Linked DNA regions of Homo sapiens: all the other regions are linked to region 1. The links are contacts of gene promoters, found by promoter capture Hi-C in blood cells and fetal thymus (Javierre and others, 2016). All regions are on one chromosome and are shown on one strand. The core of a region is centred on a gene start or on the middle of the fragment in contact, and the rest is flanking DNA. Distances in the headings are between cores, read along the strand shown. Region 1 holds the start of SHF (Src homology 2 domain containing F). Region 2 has its middle 15 kb from the start of SQOR. Region 3 overlaps SQOR (sulfide quinone oxidoreductase). Region 4 overlaps SQOR (sulfide quinone oxidoreductase).

What was found. The method cuts DNA at HindIII sites, captures the fragments that hold promoters and counts their contacts. A CHiCAGO score of 5 or more calls a contact.
Region 2: a contact is called between a fragment that was not itself captured here and the fragment with the promoter of SHF in region 1, in 1 of 17 cell types (monocytes). The highest score is 5.8, in monocytes.
Region 3: a fragment that was not itself captured here is called in contact with the fragment with the promoter of SHF in region 1 in 5 of 17 cell types (monocytes, M2 macrophages, naive CD4 T cells and 2 more); the score reaches 9.3 in monocytes.
Region 4: a fragment that was not itself captured here is called in contact with the fragment with the promoter of SHF in region 1 in 1 of 17 cell types (monocytes); the score reaches 6.1 in monocytes.

Annotation. Positions count from the first base shown.
Region 1 is chr15:45,186,713-45,189,412 of GRCh38, reverse strand. SHF (Src homology 2 domain containing F) reads left to right here and starts at 1,447. Exons shown (of 7, transcript NM_001394037.1): 1 at 1,447-1,959. The coding sequence starts at 1,462. It overlaps LOC124903481 (a long non-coding RNA gene), which reads right to left. Exons shown (of 2, transcript XR_007064608.1): 2 at 595-1,298. RefSeq lists a silencer at 1,503-1,552 and an enhancer at 2,467-2,700. The HindIII fragment of the contact is 22,026 bases long and covers 1-2,700 here.
Region 2 is chr15:45,619,086-45,621,785 of GRCh38, reverse strand. No RefSeq gene overlaps it. Among named protein-coding and RNA genes, the nearest start is that of SQOR, 15 kb to the left of the region's middle. The HindIII fragment of the contact is 492 bases long and covers 1,025-1,516 here.
Region 3 is chr15:45,638,903-45,641,602 of GRCh38, reverse strand. All of the region lies in intron 1 of SQOR (sulfide quinone oxidoreductase), which reads right to left. Among named protein-coding and RNA genes, the nearest start is that of SQOR, 5.2 kb to the right of the region's middle. The HindIII fragment of the contact is 590 bases long and covers 1,155-1,744 here.
Region 4 is chr15:45,659,960-45,662,659 of GRCh38, reverse strand. SQOR (sulfide quinone oxidoreductase) reads right to left here. Exons shown (of 10, transcript NM_021199.4): 3 at 535-705. Among named protein-coding and RNA genes, the nearest start is that of SQOR, 26 kb to the right of the region's middle. The HindIII fragment of the contact is 2,590 bases long and covers 1-2,556 here.

The DNA of each region.
Region 1 (2,700 bases), core at 198-2,697:
AAAAAAAAAAAAAAAAAAAAAAAGGCAGACATGAACCTAGGAGTGCGGAGACACTGAGGCAGTGGGGGAAAGGGGGTGGGGTAAAGTGAGGTGAGACAGCTGCTTTCCCAGCAGAGCCAAGAGCAAATGTGTTGGTGTTGGCTTCAGGCCTACATTTATGGTGAGGAACTGGCTTTATTTCTTTCCTTTTCTTTTTTCTTTTTCTTTTTTTTTTTTTTTTGAGACGGAGTCTCACTCTGTCGCCCTGGCTGGAGTGCAGTCGCGCAATCTCAGCTCAATGCAACCTCTGCCTCCTGGGTTCAAGCGATTCTCCTGCCTCAGCCTCCCGAGTAGCTGGGACTACAGGTGCCCGCCACCACACCCGACTAATTTTTTTGTATTTTTGGTAGAGACGGGGTTTCACCGTGTTAGCCAGGATGGTCTCGATCTCCTGACCTCGTGATCCTCCCGTTTCGGCCTCCCAAAGTGCTGGGATTACAGGCGTGAGCCACCGCGCCCAGCCGGAACTGGCTTTATTTCTAAGACAAAAATGCCTAGCACTTGAGCATCTGAGCCTCAAGAGGATAAGGAGTTTGTGATAGACAACACTGGGACTGTTTCTAGACTTGATTTATTGACTTGTCTGTTTCCATTCTGTTACTAATCTGATTGACAATGAAGCCCGGGATGTGGCTGGAAGGGATTTCTGCGTGCGTGCGCATGCTATCGTCAGGGCCATGTGGGCCCGTTTGGAGCAGGTGCTCCCGTGGGTGGGGGATGTTTGAGCGAGGGCTGTTTGCGTGTGAGAAGGGCGTGTGTGAAAACGACACGGGAGAAGTGGGCGTCTCTAGGGAGTTGTTTGTATGTGATGTGAGATGTGTTTGCCTGGATCGGGAAGTAACGTAGGTTCGGGTATGTGCAGTGCGTACGGTTGGATGGGAGGAGGTTGTGGGGCTCCCAAGGTAGCACGGGAGGAGGAGGCTTACAGACACATCTTACAGAACCTAGCCCCTTTTCTTGCCCGCCTAGATTTTCCTCCTAGATTATAGTTTCCCAGTTGCGAGATCCTGGGAGAGGGAAGAGGAGAGGCGTAAGGCTCCCTAGAGTCAGGAGTCTGGGGGCTCCCCTCTTTGCGTCTCGCACGAGCTGGGAGCTGGGGAAAAGAACAGATGGGGATGGATGCGCTCCCCACAGGGGACCGCGTGGCGACACGTAAAGGATTCAACCTCAGTCCAGTAGTCGCATCCTCTGCCCCAGGGCTGCCCACTTCACTTCTTGCCTGTGCATACCGGCTGGAAGCCCGCGTACACTCTTCCGAGCTACGGGAGGAGGAAGACCCTGTTAGGGAGCGGAGCCCCGCCTCTCCCTTGTTACTGAAGCGCCCCGCCCCCTCCCCGCCCGGCGGAGCCCCGCCCCCCTCCCCACCCCCGCCCCCGCCCCCCACCCGCCGCTGCGCTCCCCTCGCTCAGTCTGGCTGGCCCCATGTTACTGAGCGGAGCTCCTCCGGCTGGCTCCCGCCCGGGGCCGCGAACGCAGGGGAGCGCTGGGGGCGGCCCGGGGGGGTCCCGCCGGGGCGCCGGGGGTGCGGGAGCCGGCCCAGGAGGGGGCGGCAGCGGCGGAGTAGCCAAGTGGCTCCGGGAGCACCTGGGCTTCCGCGGGGGGGGCGGCGGCGGAGGGGGCAGCAAGCCGGCGCCCCCCGAGCCCGACTACCGCCCCCCTGCGCCCTCTCCGGCCGCGCCCCCCGCGCCGCCCCCGGACATCCTGGCCGCCTACAGGCTGCAGCGGGAGCGCGACTTCGAAGACCCCTACTCCGGGGGGTCGTCCGGCTCCGCCGCCCTCGCCACCCCTGTCGCCCCCGGACCCACGCCGCCCCCGCGCCACGGCTCTCCCCCACACCGCCTTATTCGGGTCGAGACCCCGGGGCCCCCGGCGCCGCCTGCTGATGAGCGGATCTCCGGACCCCCCGCCAGCAGCGATAGGGTGAGTGCCGCGCCGGGCCGGGATGGCCAGGAGGGAAGGCGGTCAGGGGTCTGGAGGCTGCGAGAGGGACAAAGGTGGCCTGGCCCGGGCCCCTCGGTGTCTCAGCTTCTGGCAGACGCGAGCCCCTGACCCCGGGGTTCCGAGCCTTCACCCACCTTTGTTCAGATTCTCAACCGACTAATCTGAGACGGAAGCCCCAAACTCTGCCCCTCTGCCCTATCCTTTGTAATGGCCCCAGAACTGGTGACCCTCCCCCTCCCGGGCTGGCTCTCCACTTCGTAGCCCCCTCTAGCCTGATCCATGAGCCTTTTGCTAACGGGAATTGAGGCGCACCTCCCAACCCCCACTGGTTGATGGCCTTTCTGCCCCTCTGGAAGCAGCGGCTCAGTGCCCTTTGATCTCTGACCCTTCCCCCTGGGCATAGCCAGCACAAAGCTCTTCCCTCCTGTTGCCTCTTTGCTTCCTCCTCCTCTTCCTCCTCCTGTTTCTCCAGCCTAAGCATCCTTGCAGGTGCTGAAGCCCCAGAAAGGAGGTGAAGACGGGTTTCTCCTTGCGGACACAGCACGAGCTGGCCTTTGCCCTATAGGCTGTTGTTCTCAGGAGGCGAAGACAGGCAGCTTACAGCTCTTGCCAAGGGGGCTTCGTGGGGTCCAGGCCCACTCCTCCCTCCTTCCCTCGTCCTCTCAGGTATGAGGATAGTCAGTGCTCAGGACCTGTTGCCCACATGGGGCTAAGCAGCTG
Region 2 (2,700 bases), core at 21-2,520, 430 kb before region 1:
CACACAGGTGCAAGGAGCAGCTACTCCATAGTCCTCATGGGCCTTCCTTCCTAAGGGGCAACTGAGCAGAGGGGGTTGGTTGGATGAATTACAGTCCCAAGATCACCACAGTTGATCACAGGACCACAATTAGTACTTACCTTCTCCCTCTTCCACTATTCATTCTAAATCCCCTTCACCCTCAGCTATCGCCTTGGCCGGTCTTGGTGGCTTACCTGGTGGTGTAACCCAAACTTTCATTCCTGAGGGGTCTGAACTCACGATAATCATACTCTTCTAAGGCTGAGGTTGCCGCGTCTATCTATTCACAGTTATAATGGGGCTAGGGAGTACAGGAGGTACCCAAATGAATCACCCGAGTTCCACACATCTTCCTCCTTGCCCCATCTTGTAAATGAACTTACCTCCCCCTAACGATCACTTCAGTGCTTTTGCTAGTATACCAGCTCCTCTCTTGCCTGCTGGTGCCTGAACACAAAAAGTACAAAGCACCCTGTCAGCAGCCACAACTTATAGTTCAGTGGCACCTTTATTATATCCCTGGCAAGAGTGTGTTCCCTTTGAGAATCAGGACCTCCAATCATGCAGAGCCTAGAGTTGCAGAGAAAGAAAGCAGAAAATCCCCCAGTGGATCACTGGGGAATGGTAGTAAGTGGGTCACTGGAAACGATGGTAAGTAGGGCCACTTCTCCTTCCACCCCTTAGTTTCCTGACCCTTGTATCCTTCCTACTAGGGAAGTAGAACCATAGAGAGGTCACTGATTTAATAAATGCACCGTGTCCTGAAAGATGGCACTTCATTATTTCACATCCTTTCTCAGAGCTACCATTTCAGTTGTTACTTTAGAAGACCATCTCAACAATCTATAAGGCCAGTTGCTTCTGGGTGGTGCAGTTCATAACACAACCAGAGAATCCCATGGTCAGGACCCACTCCCACACCTCCTTCACTTGAAGTAGATTCCCTAGTTGGATGCTCTGCTACGCAGGATTCCACAACTGTGGATCAAGCATTCCCTAAGCTTCCAGATGGAAGTGCTGGCTGAGGCTCTGTGGGCAGAAAAACCATACAATATTAATTTACAGTTTGCCTTAGAGTTATATTACCCATCCCACCTCCTATTATAAGATAGTCTGAGAGATCTGGACCTCTTAAACATCCAAGAACATATCACATTGATCCATTACACTGAGATGACATAAAGCTCATTAGACAGGACCAGCCAGAGGGGCAAGTATGCTGGAGGCCTTGATGAGATGCGTGCATTTCAGAGCGTAGGAGATAAACCCTGTGAAGAGTCCAGAACAGGCCATTTCAGAAACATATTTGGAGGTCTCGTGGTTGGAAGTATTCTGGAATAGCCTGTTCTAAAGTAAAAGGCAAATTGATGTATCTTCTAGCCCTGTTTTGAGGAAAGAAGGCAGTGCCTTGTAGGCCTTTTTGTGTTCTTGAGACAACATATTCCACCCCTGGGGGATATATTTCTGGCCCATGTACTGGGTGACACAGAAAGCTTCTGGCTTGAGTGGGGCTAGAACGAGAAAGGGTGCTGCAGCAGGTCCAAGCCATAGTGCAGTCAGCTCTGCCAGCAGACCCCCATGGTGTTGGAGGTGTGAGTGGTGGGAAAAGATGTAGTGTGACCACTGAATGGATCTGCAGGCCTCCTGGGCCCATTGTAAACTGGGCTTTATCTAGCACCCCATTTTTTAGTTGGTCCTCCTAAACTCTGCTCTAACAGCAGGGCTATGATGCTTCTTTGGGTCTCTCAGTATCAGTGCAACTCAGACCCTTTGTCCAATAGTTTTTTTTTTTTTTTTTAGCGGGAGGGAGTCTTGCTCTGTCGCCCAGGCTGGAGTGCAGCAGCACGATCTCGGCTCGCTGCAACCTCCGCCTCCTGTGTTCAAGCGATTCTCCTGCCTCAGCCTCCCAAGTAGCCAGGATTACAGGCGCCCACCACCACGCCCAGCTAATTTTTGTATTTTTAGTAGAGACAGGGTTTCACCATATTGGCCAGGCTGGTCTCAAACTCCTGACCTCAAGTGATCCAGCCTCAGCCTCCCAAAGTGCTGGGATTACAGGCATGACCCACTGCGCCTGGCCTGTCCAATTACTTTATAAATGTCTGATTATTCCCCCTTCAGTGTATAGTCACCCAAGAAAATGGCCATAGGTCCCTTTGAGGAGACTAGGGGAATCATCACAGTATATGTTTGCCATCATGTTGCACGGTTCTTCCTTCAACCACCTCTCCAGTCCATGTATCCAGATCTAAAAATTAACTTAAGTCTGGGAACTGGGCAAGGGAGCCGGATTTTTATTGAAATTACTGCCCTCAGCCTCTTGCTCCTCCAATTTGCTTTAAAAAAATAAATAGATCAGGGATCAGTATATGATGGCCCAGGAGCCATTGATGGCCTGATCTAGTCAATCATCTATTTTTCATAAACAAAGGTTTGTTAAAACACGGGACACTCGTTTGCTTACATATCGTCTATGGTTGCTTTTGTGCTACAACAGCTGAGCTGAGCAGTTGCCACAAAGAGTGTATGACTTGCAAAGTCTAAAATATTTAGCCCTTTACCTGAACAGTTTGTTGATCCCGTTATAGATGCTAAAAGCATCCTTGTTGACTGCCTGCCTGTTTTGCTTCTAAGTGCAAAATAGACACTACGCTCCATTAACCATGTCCACAACCCCCT
Region 3 (2,700 bases), core at 200-2,699, 450 kb before region 1:
GTTAACAAATAAAGAAAATGGAGCAATCTTCACTTAGCCCTGCAGGGCCATGTTGAAACTCTCCCTCTGGAGCTGTTATAAATCCAAACATTTGTTTAAATATTAAGCTGTGAAGCAAGTACACCAGTAGTGGGCCAGGACTGAGTCACTGGGGAAATAGGAACAATCTATATAGCTCTCTGATGATTCAAGGACTGGGAGCTGCACTGGGGTTCTTTAGTTCCCTCACTCTTCAGGGGCAAAACTGTAGGAATTTTCTTTGCAGAGTTACTGATTAAGAGTTGCTAATGAGGACTTTACAATGAAACAGTGGCTCCCTTTGCTCCTGAGAAATTTCCTACAAATTATCCTGACCTATCCTTATTTTACAATCAGAGAATGCATTGTAACAAGAGAACTGACAATTTCACCAAACCAATACAATTGCTAAGCAGAAAACACAAATTATATTTACATAAGGAAAATGCTTGCATTCAGATTCCAGGAAAGAAAAAATATGTCAGTCAATTGGATTATTTCAAATGAAAGTTAAGAGTTTTGACTGAATTATATAGGGGGAAAAAAAATGAAAGAACACCTTGTTTTTCTGCTTGCTGTAGCCAGTGGGAGCCTGACTTCTCACATTCTAGTACATAAAGAAGCACGACTTAGCTCCCCTTCAACCCCACCACTCATAGTTGGCCTCTGGTCAGGTAATTTTCAGGTTTCCTTTCTAGTCTGTATATGCCTGTGTGTGCCCATCTGCAGACTGTAGGACATGACTCACTGGAAAAAGAAGCCTGAGGTGGAATCAGTGTACTCCCAGTCACACAACAGGGATGAACTTGTTTTCCTGAGTTTGTTAAATGACCACATTAAAATTACTCATCAGCCTCAGGAGCATTGGGATTTCCACTCAGAGTCTCACATGCAAGGAGTTCACTGTAAACGGGACTGGCCATTTCATTCAAGTATATCATTCCTTGGAATCCAGTGTGTGAGGTCTTACCATAATGAGAAAACACTCTTTAATTTCAAGGTATACATTTGCTATTTGGACATAGTTGGAGAGACTCTAAACTCAATCCTTTAATAGTTGAGACAGAATGAGGTGTAGACAGCTCACGTCTCTTCTGTGTCCAGCTAGATGACAATGACCCGTTCCTGGTGAAGCTTTGTCTGAGGGCATATCAAGAGTCAAGAGACCCAGGACCACAGTCCAGGGAGTGCTAGGTACAGCTCTTCCTGACCCATTTTGGGCCATGCTTTCTTCATCAATGGAATAAAGGATCAGATTGGGTGGCATCAAAGGTCCCCTGCTTCTCTAAAACTTTGCTATCCTCTAAATGAGAAAAGGAAAATGGAAGTTCACAAGCAGGCTTTCAAATGGGGACGCTTGTTCTAATAACTCCTTAGATTGATCAGAGATGTGAATTTTTGTGGCAAAGAATAACAAGGCTTTAATAAGCAGGTCTGGAACATAATTAGAATGGAAACCATTCCTCTCAATCTCTCCCCGCAAGTCCCCAAATCATTTGTGGAAGTGTTGATATGTGACAGGCATTGTGCTATGCACTTTACGTAATTACTCACAAAAACCAGAGAGGTGGGAATTATTATTCCCATTTTATAAGTGAGGAAATGGAGATTGTAAGACCATGAGATAGTCATTTACCATTTTGAGTCCATTTCCCTGAGTGTAAAATAAGTGGAGGTGTCTAGTTGCCATTAAAGACCTTTCTTACTCAATGATTCAAAACAAGCTTAGATTTGATCACCTAGACCTTGAAAGGCTCATGATTTTCCTCCAAACTCAGATGGCCCCTCATCCATCTCAAGCATCATTTATGTGCTCACAGAAACACAAAACCACATTTACTAGACCCAGCACTGTCTTGAAGAGCTCTCACAATCTATACTCCAAACATGGTGGTTGTTAAAACACATCATTTTCCTATGGAGACATCATGGGCTACCTTAGAACAAATAGCCAAAGATATAAGAAAGTTATCATAGAGTGAAATCACCACAATCCCCACTTCCAGAAGCAGCCCTCCCTCCCAGAAGTCAGGAATTGGTACCAGGATACAGACATAGCCATTTTCTCTCCATTCATGTAGCTAGGGCCAGAGCTGCTGGTTCCCAGCTAGGTGGCATGAAAGTTCCCTGAGGGCTGGGCTAGGGCCAAAACATGGAGATTCATTATGATCAGAAGGGAGTCACCCCATGGTATTTAAGGATGATCATAACATCATCACCCATCACCCACCATACATTTACAAAGTACTTACTATGTACATGGCACAACAGCTAACCTAGGTCACTTGCTGAAGAGGCCAAGTTTTTCTTTTCCTAACAGTCAAAATCATGAAGCTGAATATGGCTTTAACAACTTCAGGCAAGATCCTAGGGACCACACAGGGTGTCTGTAGAAGGAAAGTACATGGGAGACTCTTCTGCATAGGTTGGGTAAGAGATCCTAAGAGCAAGTGATGGACATGTCGGGATCATGACTTAAAAGAGATGGTGCCTAGTTGTAGCCATTTTTTTTAAACCTATTGTCCATTTGGTAGAACCAGTTGTATTAATTTTCTAGGGCTGCCATAACAAAACACTATAGACTAGATGAAGTCTAGAGAACAGAAATTTATTTTCTCAAAGTTCTGGAGATTGAAAGTCCAAGACCTCAGTGCTGATGAGACTGGTTTCTCCTGGGATCTC
Region 4 (2,700 bases), core at 12-2,511, 470 kb before region 1:
AAAGGTGCTGAGCAGTTGTGAGCCTCAAGCTCCAGCAACAATTCTCCTTAGCGCTGGCATGAACCTCAGAGTCACAGGATTCCCCTACAGTTCTGGTAGAGCGCCCCCCAGGGTGGCTGGATGGATATTTTCCAGCATCCTATTGTTCTGGGAGGCTAGGCGACCGGTAGAAAATCTGATTGCTTCAGAAAAAGAGAAGGAGGAAGGTGCTTGCTATTTTAACATGTAGCAACGTATAAACAAATGGTCTGATAAACATTCAGGTGCAAGATAGTATACTAAGCAATAGGGTGCACAGTGGGTGTTCAACAAATACTTATCTTAGTTGTTTATTAACTCAATATCACTCAGTCCTTCCATCTATCCTCCACTTACCACATACCCTGCCATCTTGTGTAGTATTCAACACACATACGTTCATGCACACACATGCATATATACCGCTCTTTCAACACAAGGCTATCCAGTTTAAGATGGCTGCATATTAATACAAGCTGTCAGATTAACAAAAAATCTAAAGGCCTCAGTGGTTACCTTCTCGTCGTCATCTGTGTGAATGCAGTTCTTGTCTGGGTTCAACTCAGTCACTCTAGCTTTGATCCATTCTACACCAGATGGAATCACACTTGCCGTGGGACGACCAGATGAGGACAATTGTTTGGCACCAGCACCCACCAGTGTCCAGATTGGCTGGTAGAAATGTCTCTGAGAAACAAAGTATTTGAAGATTTATTGCAATTTGACACTGATCAAAAGGGGTCATAGCTAACAGTATGGGCTAGATTCTTTCAATCACTCCCTCCTGACCTTTAGAGCATCGTATGGAAAAGTCTCCACAAAGTTAGCTCCGTCTATTAGGCGTCTCCTATTATGGTAAGCTCTGAAGGACAGTCACTCCACACAAGAATTCTTCCAAGATCATCAGAAAAGCTATAAACTATCTTTAGTGACCACTGCATTATGTATTGCTGAAAGTTGATTTGGTGTTTAATATGTACATGTTATATGCACGTGCATATCTACACACATATTATGGATACTTCATGTGAACAAATATTTTAAAAATTAAGCCCAGCAGCCTAGATATGGTTCCTCAGGAGCATGTGGAGACAGTGGTAAGTCTGGAAAGTTTACAGCCCCTTCCAGAGGTCCTCTAAACTTCATTAACTTCCAACTGTGTTTCCCAAGCCCAGTGAGGGCTGTGTTTCCTGAACAGCCCTTCTTCTACTTTCTCAGAGACTCAGAGATTTTACACCAAAGACAATAAGTACCAGATCCTACTCCACAATGCAATGCATACCCAAACTTTCACTATCTTCTGGAGTTTTCTTGCTTCAGATGGTCCTTTTTTTTTTTTTTTTTTTTTTTTAAGACAGAGTCTCGCCCAATCACCCCAATCACCCAGGCTGGAGTGCAGTGGCACGATCTCGGCTCACTGCAACCTCCACCTCCCAGGTTCAGGCGATTCTTCTGCCTCAGCCTCCTGAGTAGCTGGGACTACAGGCATGTGCCACCATGCCTGGCTAATTTTTGCATTTTTAGTAGAGATGGCATTTCACCATGTTGCCTAGGTTGGTCTTGAACTCCTGACCTCAGGTGATCTGCCTTCCTCAGCCTCTCAAAGTGCTGGGATTACAGCCCTGAGCCACTGTGCCCAGCAACAGTCCATTCTTGATCTAAGTTAGTTGTAAAAGTTCTGGACATAGGGGCAAAGGGCAGATTTGTTTAATGGCCTCTAAGAATTCCAATCCACTTAGAGTAGACTGGGGACCAAGAGCTCTCAATATTGCCAAAATGCCTCAAAGTAGCTGGCCAGCACTGCCAAAACCCACAGAGAGGTGAAGAGGACACCAGGAATGACTTTGCAATCTCCCTACAAGCAATAATGTGATCCAAGAGGGAGGAAGACAGAGGTCTCCATTTATGAGAGCTCATCAATGGCCAGTCTATCTTGAACAGTAAGAGGAGCAAAAATACAAGCTCAGATTTTATTTTTAGACTATGAACATCAGCTCCAGCTATCACTAAATCAGACTCAGCAGGGAAAGTACCAAGCCTGGGGCTCTGGCAGCTCCTTCCAGAAATTCCTGTCCTGTACTTCCTCACGGGGCAGGACAAACTTGATTCTGGCCGCCTGAATTGTGCCCAGGTCCCAGAAGAGCCAGTCTCCTTACAAAGAGAAGCCTGACTGGGAGACCCGCCCACGCATTAGCTAAAATACAACATATACCAGAAACAGTAGCCACCTGACACAGCTCTCAGACCACTGTCATTTAAAGTGAGGTTCCTGAATTGAACAGACGTCACTTTAAAAAGGAAAATGATAGAGACTGCCCCCTAGTTTCCTCTCAAATCATGGCCCTGGTTAACATCATTCCCTGCTGGGGACAAATCTTGAAAAGGAGTATGTCTTCCTTGTCCTGTCCTCCCCCTGAAACAGGCACCTGATCCATTTTGCTTTTTCCTCCCAAGGATACAGCTCCCAACCAGTACATGCCTAGTTCCACAGGAAACATTAGGCAAACCACCAAAAATCTTGAATATTTTTCTGAAGCTTTTGGACAATCTTAACATGTTTTTTGTGAGACAGCGCCTTACTCAGTCTTCCCTCCTAGTGTCAGCTACCTTTTCTCCCTTATAATCTGCCCTTGCATTTAAATTTCTAAGCCCACTGACAGCTTTCCAGAGGCCTTCCTGCTC